Regions from separate parts of the Homo sapiens genome. Here regions 1, 3 and 4 are each linked to region 2. Evidence: promoter capture Hi-C in 16 types of primary human blood cells and fetal thymus (Javierre and others, 2016). All regions are on one chromosome and are shown on one strand. The core of a region is centred on a gene start or on the middle of the fragment in contact, and the rest is flanking DNA. Distances in the headings are between cores, read along the strand shown.

Region 1 (2,700 bases), core at 70-2,569, 560 kb before region 2:
GGGGATGTTTCCCCCTGTTGCAGCTGGTGCTTCAGGCACACAGGTGTTGGTCCTGAACAACCCATACCCAGGCCGTCTGGGGCCTTCCCTTCTGCCCCGGCCTGCCTGGTCTCTGCTGCCAGAGCAAGGTCTGCAGCTTCCGATCTCCCCGCCTTTCCCAAATATGCACGCCCTGTACCGCCGTCCCAGGCTCCGTGCCAGGCGGCAGCAGCCACTGTGCTCACACTCATGTGTCGTGTCTCTCCTCCCAGGTAACTTGTTTCCGTGTTAACAGGTAATCTTCCTGCTGAGGATGTCAGGCAACATGCCAACCTGGGAACGACCACCTTTGGGGCCAGATGGACATTTTGGTGCCCATGCAATCCCATTGCCAAGGTTACCACCTGTCTTCAAATAGGGCCCACCCAACAGAGTGAAGAATCTAGCGAGCGACCACTTGGTCCTACACACTCGAAGTATGAGTTCCTTAACAGAGGGACAATTATTCAGACTGGTGTCTTTTGTTTAGAGATGGACTCTTTAATGATGCCCTTACAGCCAGCCTCCCTCAATAAGTTACCACTTCGCACCCATTCGGGTGGCTATTTTCAGAAAAATGAAAAATAAGTGTTGGCAAGGATGTGGAGAAATTGGAACCTTTGTGCACTACTGGCCAGAATGTAAAATGGTGCAGCTAGGCACACAGTGGCTCATGCCTGTATTCCCAGCACTTTAGGAGGCCAGGGTGGGAGGATCACTTGAAGCCAGGAGTTCAAGACCAGCCCAGGCAACATAACAAGACCCGTGTCTCAAAAAAAAAAAAAAAAAAAAAAAGCTGCAGCTGCTTTGGAGAATAGTATGGCAGCTCCTCAAAAAATTAAACATAGAATTACCATATAATCTAGCAATTCTACCTCTGAGAATATACTCAAAATAACCGAAAGCAGGGACTCAAACAGATATCTGTACACCCACGTTCATAGCAACATTATTCACAGTAGCCAAAAGGTAGAAGCAACCCAGGTGTCTATTGATGGATGGAGAAACAAAATGTGGTATACACATACAATGGAATATTATACAGCCTTAAAAAGGAAGGAAGTTCTGATGCACACTACAACACAGATGAGCCTTGATTGAAGACATGATGCTATGGGAAGCAAGCCAGGCACAAAAGGACAGAGACTGTATGATTCGAGTTATATGAGGTAACTATAGTAGGCAGATTCATAGAGACAGAAAGTAAGATCGTGGCTGCCAGGAGCTGGAGGAAGAATGAATGGCAGTTGTTGTTTAAAGGGAACAGAGCTTCAGTTTGGGATCATAAAAAACTTCTGGAAACAGATAGTGAGGATGGTTGCTCAACAGTGTGAATGTACGCAATGGCAATGAACTGTACTCTTAAAAATGGTTAAACTGGGTTTTGTTTGGGGTTGGTTGGTTTGTTTTGAAACAGTCTCACTTTGTCGCCCAGGCTGAACTGCAGTGGTATGATCTCAGCTCACTGCAGCCTCAACTTCCAGGCTCAGGTGATCCTCCTGCCTCAGCCTCCAAAGTAGCTAGGACTACAGGTACACACTATCATGCCTGGCTAATTTTTCTATTTTTTTATAGAGATGGCATTTCACTATGTTGCTCAGGCTGGTCTCAAACTCCTGGAGTCAAGCAAGTCACCTGCTTCGGCCTCCCAAAGTGCTGGGATTACAGGTATGAGCCACCACACCTGTTCTAAACTGGTGATTTTTATGTTATGCTTTTTTTTTTTCTTTTTTTTTTTTTTTTTTTTTGAGTGGCTCACTGCAGCCTTGACCTCCTGGGCTCAGGTGATCCTCCCACCTCGGCCTCCCAAGTAGCTGAGACCACAGGCATGCACCACCATGCTTGGCTAATTTTTTTTATTTATTTTAGAGATAAGGTCTCACTATGTTGCCCAGGCTGATCTCGAACTCCTGGACTCAAGCGATCCTCCCACCTCAGTCTCTCAAAATGCTAGGGTTACAGGTGTAAACCACCATGCCTGGCCTGTTGCAAATATTTTATCACTGTAAAAAAAATTTTTAAACATCAATACCCCTTCTTTGCAGCCCTAAACCCAATTTGACTGTCCATGTGCCCTCCCAGAGCAATCATCTGGGGCCTGACACCCCACCCACAGCCCTCCAGGTGCCCTGCCTGCCTCTAGCATGGAGTGGGCCTCTCTGCCCCATGATTCTGGCCATCCCAGCTGGGGCTGTTGCCCATCTCTGGAGGGTTGAAACCTCAGCCTTCCCCACAGACCTCGCAGTGGCCTGGGCTTCTGCCTCTGTGGCCTGTGCTCGTGCTCCAACTCCAGCCCCTAAAGCCCAGGAGTAGACCTTATGAGACACTCAAACACAATTTCCATCTTCATCCTCCGATAATGCCCTAGACATGTGTTCAGTGCTTATTATGGGTTAGGCACAGTACTGAACCTCATTTAATTCTCACAACAATCCAACAAACTAGTTCTTATTGTTACCATCATCCCATTTTACAGATGAAAAACCCGAGGCTTGGAGACTCAGTAATTTGCCCAAGGTCCCAAAGCCAGGAAGGGGCCAATTCAGGATATGAAACGAGCATTCTCTTTCATGGCCCATGTTCAGCTAGGGTCCCACACCATGAGAAATCATTCATAAACTTAAATCCTGACGGGATCATCTTAATGCTTGCCCCCACTGATGCTAACATGCATATTTAGGA
Region 2 (2,847 bases), core at 241-2,740:
ATAAAGTAAGCTAGAGAAAGTGTTAGGAAAATCATAACGACAAAATATATTTATTATTCATTAAGTGGAAGTGGATCATCTTAAAGATCTTGATCTTCATTGTCTTCACGTTGAGTTGGCTGAGGAGGAGGGGGCTTGATCTTGCTGTCTCAAGAGCAGCGGAGTCATAAGAAAATGCACATTTAAGTGGCCCCATGCAGTTCAAATCCATGTTGCTCAAGGCTCAACTGTACACCGAACTGAAAAATGATTCCATTTTTAGTAGGAAATGGCCTACTCTAAGTCCTACTGCTTCCCTTTGCACTTGATGGCAAGGGTCTTTAACTGTGTCAGTGGAGCTGGTTTGGCTCCACTGATAGAGACTCCCTGACCATCTGATAGGCCACTTTTGTTAGAGGAGAAGGTACCCCCTTGCCTACCTGTTCTTTTCTTACTTCATGGGTCTTGATTCCTGACTCAGGAGCACCCATTACAGAAAAGCCCTGGGACTAGATCTAATTTTATTTAATGAAAAACCTATGGAGCATTTACTCTTGCTTCTAATAAATTAACAAGTCAGGGCTTTCTTCTGAATAGGAGGGTCTCTTGACTCTTTGATATTTGACTTTTGAACCAGACTAGATGAGGCAGAGCTTCAGCACATATTTTACCAGTGTCTTCAGCAAATGCCTTTCTCTTTGCAAAGCTCCATATTACTACCAAAAATTAACCCAACTAAATTGTAATTTCTACTCACCCACATTTATTGAGTACTGTGTTTCCTTGAAAGATCTCAAACAAGGCACCTTCTTGCAAGATCTTCACCACCAGACCTTCATGATAGTCACCTCCTCATTAGGCTGAGACGCATACACAGTGATTACGTTCAGACACAGGGACTCCTGTGTCTTAAGACCTTGTGTGACCCTTGTAATTAAAGCATTACACTTTGCAAAGGCTGACAGTGGTATAGGGGCTGTCTGAAACTATTCAGCCATAGCCTGGTCTCTGCTTTCTTTTTACAAATGGGAGGTTGGCTAAGGCAGACACAGGGATGGCTAAGAGGGATAAAGGACGTGACTTCCATAGAACCTTTTGTTCCTAGAGGAACCTCTCCATGAAACACACAGTGAAACTAGATTAAACCAAAAAACGCCCTCAGCTCCAGCAGATCCTGAGCTACAAAGCACCTCTTCCCTACCGAGCCTTCTCACCCATGCGCACTGAGTTTCTGAGTATCAGAAAGTCAGGTTTCTGAATCCCTAGAGAAAGTAAAAATTTCCTTGGACACAATGGGTTTTCTTTGCTTCCTGCATGACAGTCACGAAGGGGAATCTGAAATAGAGAACTTGAATATGCGGCTTGCTGAAGGGAAGTGTACTGTACAGTAGCCCCCCTTCTCCACGGGGGATCCATGTCAAAATCCCCAGGGGATGCCTAAGACTGCGGATGGGACCGAACCCTGTATACGCTTGCCTTTAATGCCTTTTCCATTTCAGCTCGGCACTTAGCCCACACTGTGGCTGTAACTTTTGTAGTTTTAGGTACAGCAGCAAAACTAGCACAAATTTCTTTGTCCTTTTTCACAATTTCATGGATAGAAGATTGATTCTTACTGTAGATCTTAGCAATCTCAGCATACTTTTTTTTTTCTTGAGAACTTTCACCTTTTAACTAAAGGAAGGACTTCATGGCTGGTTTTTGGCATATCCAGATTGCCAGCATCATACTCTTGGAACTTTGAGGCCATTGTGAAGTCAAATAATAGTTCCTGCCAGGCACAGTGGCTCACACCTGTAATCCCAGCATTTTGGGAGTCCAAGGCAGGTGGATCACTTGAGCTCGGGAGTTTGAGACTAGCCTGGGCAACATGGCAAAACTCTGCCTCTACAAAAAACACAAAAATTCACCGGTCACGGTGGCACATACCTGTAGTCCCAGCTACTCGGCAGGCTGAGGTGGGAGCATGGCTTAAGCCCAGGAGGTGGAGGTTACAGCGAGCCAAGATCATGCCACTGCACTCCAGCCTGGGCGACAGAGCCAGCCTCTGTCTCAAAAATAAAAAAGGAACCTAAGCACTGAGACCCCCTGACAGTAGATCTGGTAACTGAGATGGCCACTAAGTGACTGGTTGGTGGTGGGGGTGTCTACAGCGTGGAGATGCTGGACCCCGAGAGAGAGGGTTTATGACCCAGGCAGGATGGAGCAGGACAGCACAAGATCTCCTCACACTACTCAGAATGACTCACAATTTAAAACTTATACATTGTTTATTTCTGGAATTTTCCATATAATGTTTCTGGACCATGGTTGACCACAGGTAAATGAAACCTTGGAAAGCTAAAACCTTGGATAAGGGGGGACTACTGTAATATAAAGTTTACAGTTCCTGGGGTGAAAGCTCAGGCAGACCCTATCTATGCATTATTACAACGTACCATCAATTCAAAACCATAAATTTGCAGAAACATCGTTGCTTTAATTCCTAAAATATTGAATATGAATAATAAAAATAATATATGCTTTGTCTTAGAAGCACCTTTTTAATATGATTGATGTGTATTGATCTGTTTCTTCATTCTAACATGAACATTTCTGTAACAGTCATTTCCCCTGAAATATCTAACCTGTGGGTACCTGAGACAGCTTGTCAGTTAGGAAGAACAGTGGTGGCGATAGCCACGTAGGGCTGGTTTGGTCGTGAGTGCAAGTGTGGTTGCAGCAGCTAGAGCAGAGGACTGTGTGGAGAACATGGGTCAGGTCAGAAGGCAGTAGCCAGGAGGGATGCAGAGTCGAGAGAGAATTTGTTGATTGGAATGACTCAGGTTGACTTTCAGGATGAAGAGAAGGGGCCAATAGAGAGGGAAG
Region 3 (2,787 bases), core at 265-2,764, 770 kb before region 2:
TCCGTCTCCTAGGTTCAAGTGATTATCATGCCTCAGCCTCCTGAGTAGCTGGGATTACAGGCGTCTGCCACCACACCCAGCTGATTTTTGTACTTTTAGTAGAGAGGGGTTTTGCCAGGCTAGTCTTGAGCTCCTGGCCTCAAGTGATCTGACTGCCTTGGCCTCCCAAAGTGCCAGGATTACAGGTGTGAGCCACTGCTCACAGTTATCTATTTGTCTTAGTCCATTTAGGCTGCTATAACAAAATACCATAAACTGGGTGTCTTATAAGCAACAGAAATTTATTTCCCACACTTCTGGAGACTTGGAGGTCCAAGATCAGGCAGTGGCAGGTTCAGTGTCTGGTGCTAAGGAAGCACCTGCGCCTCCCGGTCCACAGACGCACACCTTCTCACTGCGTCCTCATATGACAGAAGGGGTGAGGGAGTCCGTCTTTTTTTTTTTTTTTTTTTTTTTGAGACGGAGTTTCGCTCTCGTTGCCCAGGCTAGAGTGCAATGGCGCAATCTCGGCACGCAACCTCCACTTCCCGGGTTCAAGCGATTCTCCTGCCTCAGCCTCCCAAGTAGCTGGGATTACAGGCATGCACCACCACGCCCGGCTAATTTTGTATTTTTAGTAGAGATGGCGTTTCTCCATGTTGGTCAGGCTGGTCTTGAACTCCCGACCTCAGGTGATCTGCCCACCTCAGCCTCCCAAAGTGCTGGGATTACAGGCGTGAGCCACCGCACGCAGCTTTTTTTATTTTTTATTTTTTAATATTTTTGAGACAGAGTCTTGCTGTGTCACCAGGCTGGAGTCCAGTGGTGCCATCTTGGCTCACGGCAACCTTCACCTCCTGGGTTCAAGCGATTCTCCTGCCTCAGCCTCCAGAGTAGCTGGGATTACAGGCGCCCACCATCACGCCCGGCTAATTTTTTGTATTTTTAGTAGAGACAGGATTTCACCATCTTGGCCAGGCTGGTCTAGAACTCCTGACCTCGTGATCCACCCGCCTTGGCCTCCCAAAGTGCTGGGATTACAGGCGTGAGGGAGTCTGTCTTTTATAAAGGTGCTGATTTCATTTATGAGAGCTCAGTCCTCGTGACTAATCACCAACCAAAGGCCTCACCTCCACATTTGATCACACTGGGAATGAAGACTTCAACATACTTTGCAGGGGACAGAAACATTCTGTCTATAGTACCATTAACTTTCTGCTATGGAAGTTGAAGACAGTTCTCTTTTGTCGTATTATACCCCTGATACACACTTCAGTGTTTATACTGTGCCAAGGAAAGCAGTGTTCACAGCTGAGCCATACGGTACACTACAATTTTCCTTTCTCATATAACTTTTTGTCCCCTTGGAGTTAGCAATTGACTTTTTTTTTTTTTTTTTTTTTGAGACAGGGTCTCGCTCTATAGCGCAGGCTAGAATGCAGTGGCGTGATCTCGGTTCACTGTGACCTCTGCCTCCTGGGCTCAAGCGATCCTCCCGCCTCAGCCTCCCAAGTAGCTGGGAATACAGGTGCGTGCCACCATACCCAGCTAATTTTTGTTTTTTTGAGTTTTTTTTTTGGTAGAGACAGAGTTTTGCCACATTGCCCAGGTTGGTCTCCAAGTCTGGAGCTCAAGAATCTCCCTGCCTTGGCCTCCAAAAGTGCTGGGATTACAAGTGTGAGCTACCACACCTGGCCAGTGATTGACTCTTTTGCTAAAACTAATTTTTTCTTCCAACTCTTTGACAAAGTCGTCAATATTAAGCAATATACCCTTACTACTTTTGATTTTGTTTTTAAAGGAATTCCTTCTGGAGTCTTCTATCCTGAACTTGTCGCTTTCTAGGCCAGCTGCATTTCTGTGTTTCTAAAACTTCCATTGTTTATAAAACACCATAATCCTGGCGTTTGCTCTGTTTGTACTCTGTATTTCCAGTATCTGGAAACCATGTCTTCTTTCTTGGCTTATTTCCTCATTCAGGGCTGTGTGTCTTCTAGTAGTTATGTGAAAAGAGGGTTCGTGAAAGTTAAATGTTTTTGAGGCTATATGTCTGAAGAGGTCTTTGGTGTTCTTCAGACTTCATGGAAAACATTTTCCCTAAGAATGTTAAAGGCATTGCTCCCTTTTTTGCTTCTAATGCTGCCATTGCTTTAAAATGGTGCCATTTTGATTCTTGATCCTTTTTCTGTAAATTTTTTTCTCTCTTGAAAATCTCTTTCTTGAAGATCTCTCTTGAAGATCTCTTTCTCCCTAGTCCTCTCAAACTTTGCATTGATGTACTTTGATGGGATCATTTTTGTTAATTATGTAGGTGTTCCATAGGCCTTTCAGTCTGAAAATTTATGTGTTTTAGTTCTAGGAGCTTTCTTTGTATTTCTCTATTTCTTTTTTTTTTTTTTTTTTTTTTTAAGACAGAGTCTTGGTCTGTCGCCCAGGCTGGAGTGCAGTGGTGTGATCTTGGCTCACTGCAACCTCCGCCTCCCAGGTCCAGGTGATTCTCCTGCCTCAGCCTCCTGAGTAGCTGGGATTACAGGCATCTGCCACCATGCCTGGCTAATTTTTGTATTTCTAGTAGAGACGGGGTTTCACCATGTTAGCTGGGCTGATCTTGAACTCCTGGCCTCAGGTGATCCGCCCTCCTTGGCCTTCCAAAGTGCTGGGATTACAGGCATGAGCCACCATGTCTGGCCTCAAATTTTTATTTTTGATAGCTTTTTCATGTTCTCTAATGTTTCTGATTGATTGATTGATTGAGAAAGGGTCTTGCTCTGTTGCCCAGGCTGGAGTGCAGTGGTGCAATCATGGCTC
Region 4 (2,700 bases), core at 43-2,542, 520 kb before region 2:
GAGTGGGAGATTGTGCGTTTTAAAGCAGAAAATAAGAAGGGGAAACTTGTTTTATACACTCTATACAAGGTTCTGCTCATTGTCAGATATCTTTTATCTTTTATATTTCCCATGAATGATTCATGTCTTGGTGGCTTTGTGTCACCCTTCTTTTCACAAGAAACTTCATTAGAGAGCTATAAGTTTTCCCATTGATTGGGGCCCTCATTTATGAGTGTTTTTCTCCTTCGTGTGCTGGTTATTGTCATCTGAGTTAAAACAACTCTTTGCAACCTGTTTCACCTTTACTACATTTAACAAACCTGACTTTTAAAAGCCACTATAACCTTTCAGAGAAATGCTTATTGACATTACTAGCAGTTGCTTTTAACTATCTGACTTTTATCAGTTTTGTATCTGCTAACAAAAACACAAGCAAACATCCAGCCTTGTAAATGTGCATAGCCAAACACCTGCATTTAAGCCACTTGAATATTTTGCTGCCATGCAAGAATCTAATTGTTCAACACACCTGGCCCAAAATGCTGAGCTTAAATTACCAATAGCCACTCAACTTCCAGAACAAACTACAGTAAAATTGCATCTTGATCTCCCACGCCATAAGAGGCATTTGATGCCCACTACTCAATTTCATTCAATACCTATCTCAGCCCCTGACTGATTTTGCTTTCACCTTCTTTTTGTCTAGAAGCCTCACCGTCCCTTCCTCCACATTTTCTTTATTCTTTTTTTTCCTTTTGGAGGCTGGGCACCAAAGAAATGCTAAAATTCACTTTTTGGCTTTTCACTGATTAGAATCAATCAGGATATTACTTATTTTAACAAATAAATGCAGTAACCCAAAAGATTTATGCTACTGTAAGTATAACCTGCAAGGCTTAGTCTTCATAAATATCTGTGTTTCCTAGATAAGCTTGTAAGTTGTTAAGTTAAACCAGGCTGCAAAAATATTGTATTGCTTGGGGAGAGGCTGAGAAATCAAGAGACCAAGGGAAGACATTCACTCCATTAGCAACCTGTTCTATTTGTATGAGAGATATGCCATTATGTAAAACATAAGCAATAATAACAAGAATACCTTTATTAAATTTGTTACTTCATAATCATTCTTGCTTGCTCTCTATTGGAGGTACACATTTTTTTTTATTTTAGGTGTATCAAGAACCAATAAATCTGTGGCAAAGAGTTAACCTATGCATGGTAAAATACATAAAATACATATTCCTTTGTTTCATAATAAATAAACCTGTAGCATAATAAAGAATAGTGCAAACTACCATTGAAAAAGTTGTATAAATAAAACAACTCATTATACATCAGGAATATTTTGTTCTAATAAGTTTACGATACATAAATTATCCCCCCAAAAGTTCATACCTTTTCTATTTGAAAGGGCTTTGAAAGTGAATAATATGAAAATCAAATAAACTTTTAAAATGTAAAATTATCTCATATTCAAGTTTTAAGGTCTTTTTCTTTATAAAGGAGGGTCTGCATGTTTCATATTCATCACAACAATCTGAAGACAACATTGAAAGGCTTTCCAAGTGACAGCACCATGCACTGTACTAGTAATATAATATATCTATAAACTATATATAATCTTATCAACACAATGCAAAAAAGACATGCAGGAAGAGTCTTGGTTTTCACATTACGTTGTTCATTCAAGTAAGCTTAAAAATATATTTTTCCATTTTCTTTCCTTTTTTTTTTAAATAAACCATGGATCATAAATGACAATCTTTCACCAAAATGTATAATATAATTCTTTGGTGTGCTTTGAACTCTTCCAGGAAAGAAAAAAAAAAAGGATGATGTCTGAAAATAAATTAATTCAACTGTACAAATAATAGTGTTCACATACAAGTTATTAACAATGACAAGACTACATCAACCACTCACAGCACACAAAACAAATTTCTACAAACCCTGGGGAGGGGGTGTCTTCGGGGTCTCTAAGGATAAATTAGTGCTCTTTAGTGTATCTGTAGGATGTTTCTGATGGACTACATTTTGCACAGGAGATGTGTTGTACCAACCGAAAATAAATCGACTAAGAGTTATTGTCCTAGGTCCTTGACCTTTTTTATCCTAGCTTGACAGCTCTGGCAAAGGTCACACATTCATCAGTGTTTGGTGGTAACTATAAACCTTTTAAAAATTTTTAATATGTATGGCAACTCCCTCCCCTCTTTTAATGTAAATCATACACTTCACACACTGTCATTTTCAAATGGATTCCAGTTTGGTGTGCTCAGTGCTCAGGTGGAAGAAAATGCATTAAAATGCAGTTTCAGGCATTGAAAAATAGACTTTTTAAAAGGCTGATACAACAGTATAAAAGAGGTGTTGGCCTGTTTTAAAAACAACAGCTTTCCAAAAAAATAGGCATGATGCCATCATCACACCTCCTCAAGACTTGACTGTGAATGTTGGCATCCCAAAGAACTTAGGATCGAAAACAGAATCTCTTTATTACACAAGAAGTTTGGACACAGTTAGGAGGCAGTATCTGAGAATTCAGATAAAAAAAAAAAAACATATAGGAAAAAGAAAGCACTTGAATTTCTTCTATTTTATAAAATATCACAGTTTCACAGTTGTCTTTTGCAGCAGCTTTTCTTCTCTCCACTTTTGCTTGAACAATCACAGTAGCACAAGATATGGAGATATATTAAGGTTGCTGCATCTTTTTTT

Evidence for each region. The method cuts DNA at HindIII sites, captures the fragments that hold promoters and counts their contacts. A CHiCAGO score of 5 or more calls a contact.
Region 1: a contact is called between a fragment that was not itself captured here and the fragment with the promoter of PCCA-AS1 in region 2, in 6 of 17 cell types (monocytes, activated CD4 T cells, naive CD4 T cells and 3 more). The highest score is 6.2, in monocytes.
Region 3: a contact is called between a fragment that was not itself captured here and the fragment with the promoter of PCCA-AS1 in region 2, in 1 of 17 cell types (non-activated CD4 T cells). The highest score is 5.0, in non-activated CD4 T cells.
Region 4: a fragment that was not itself captured here is called in contact with the fragment with the promoter of PCCA-AS1 in region 2 in 2 of 17 cell types (erythroblasts and M2 macrophages); the score reaches 6.3 in erythroblasts.

Annotation. Positions count from the first base shown.
Region 1 is chr13:99,923,026-99,925,725 of GRCh38, forward strand. The region is part of intron 1 of CLYBL-AS3 (CLYBL antisense RNA 3); the gene reads right to left. Among named protein-coding and RNA genes, the nearest start is that of CLYBL-AS3, 33 kb to the right of the region's middle. The HindIII fragment of the contact is 3,259 bases long and covers 1-2,700 here.
Region 2 is chr13:100,479,525-100,482,371 of GRCh38, forward strand. It overlaps PCCA-AS1 (PCCA antisense RNA 1), which reads right to left and starts at 1,491. Exons shown (of 5, transcript NR_047686.1): 1 at 1,456-1,491. All of the region lies in intron 21 of PCCA (propionyl-CoA carboxylase subunit alpha), which reads left to right. It overlaps LOC107984574 (a long non-coding RNA gene), which reads right to left and starts at 1,683. Exons shown (of 3, transcript XR_007063850.1): 1 at 1,596-1,683; 2 at 737-906; 3 at 23-239. The HindIII fragment of the contact is 6,979 bases long and covers 1-2,847 here.
Region 3 is chr13:99,710,971-99,713,757 of GRCh38, forward strand. All of the region lies in intron 1 of CLYBL (citramalyl-CoA lyase), which reads left to right. Among named protein-coding and RNA genes, the nearest start is that of CLYBL-AS1, 17 kb to the right of the region's middle. The HindIII fragment of the contact is 5,637 bases long and covers 1-2,787 here.
Region 4 is chr13:99,961,960-99,964,659 of GRCh38, forward strand. It overlaps ZIC5 (Zic family zinc finger 5), which reads right to left. Exons shown (of 2, transcript NM_033132.5): 2 at 1,005-2,700. Among named protein-coding and RNA genes, the nearest start is that of CLYBL-AS3, 6.1 kb to the left of the region's middle. The HindIII fragment of the contact is 763 bases long and covers 912-1,674 here.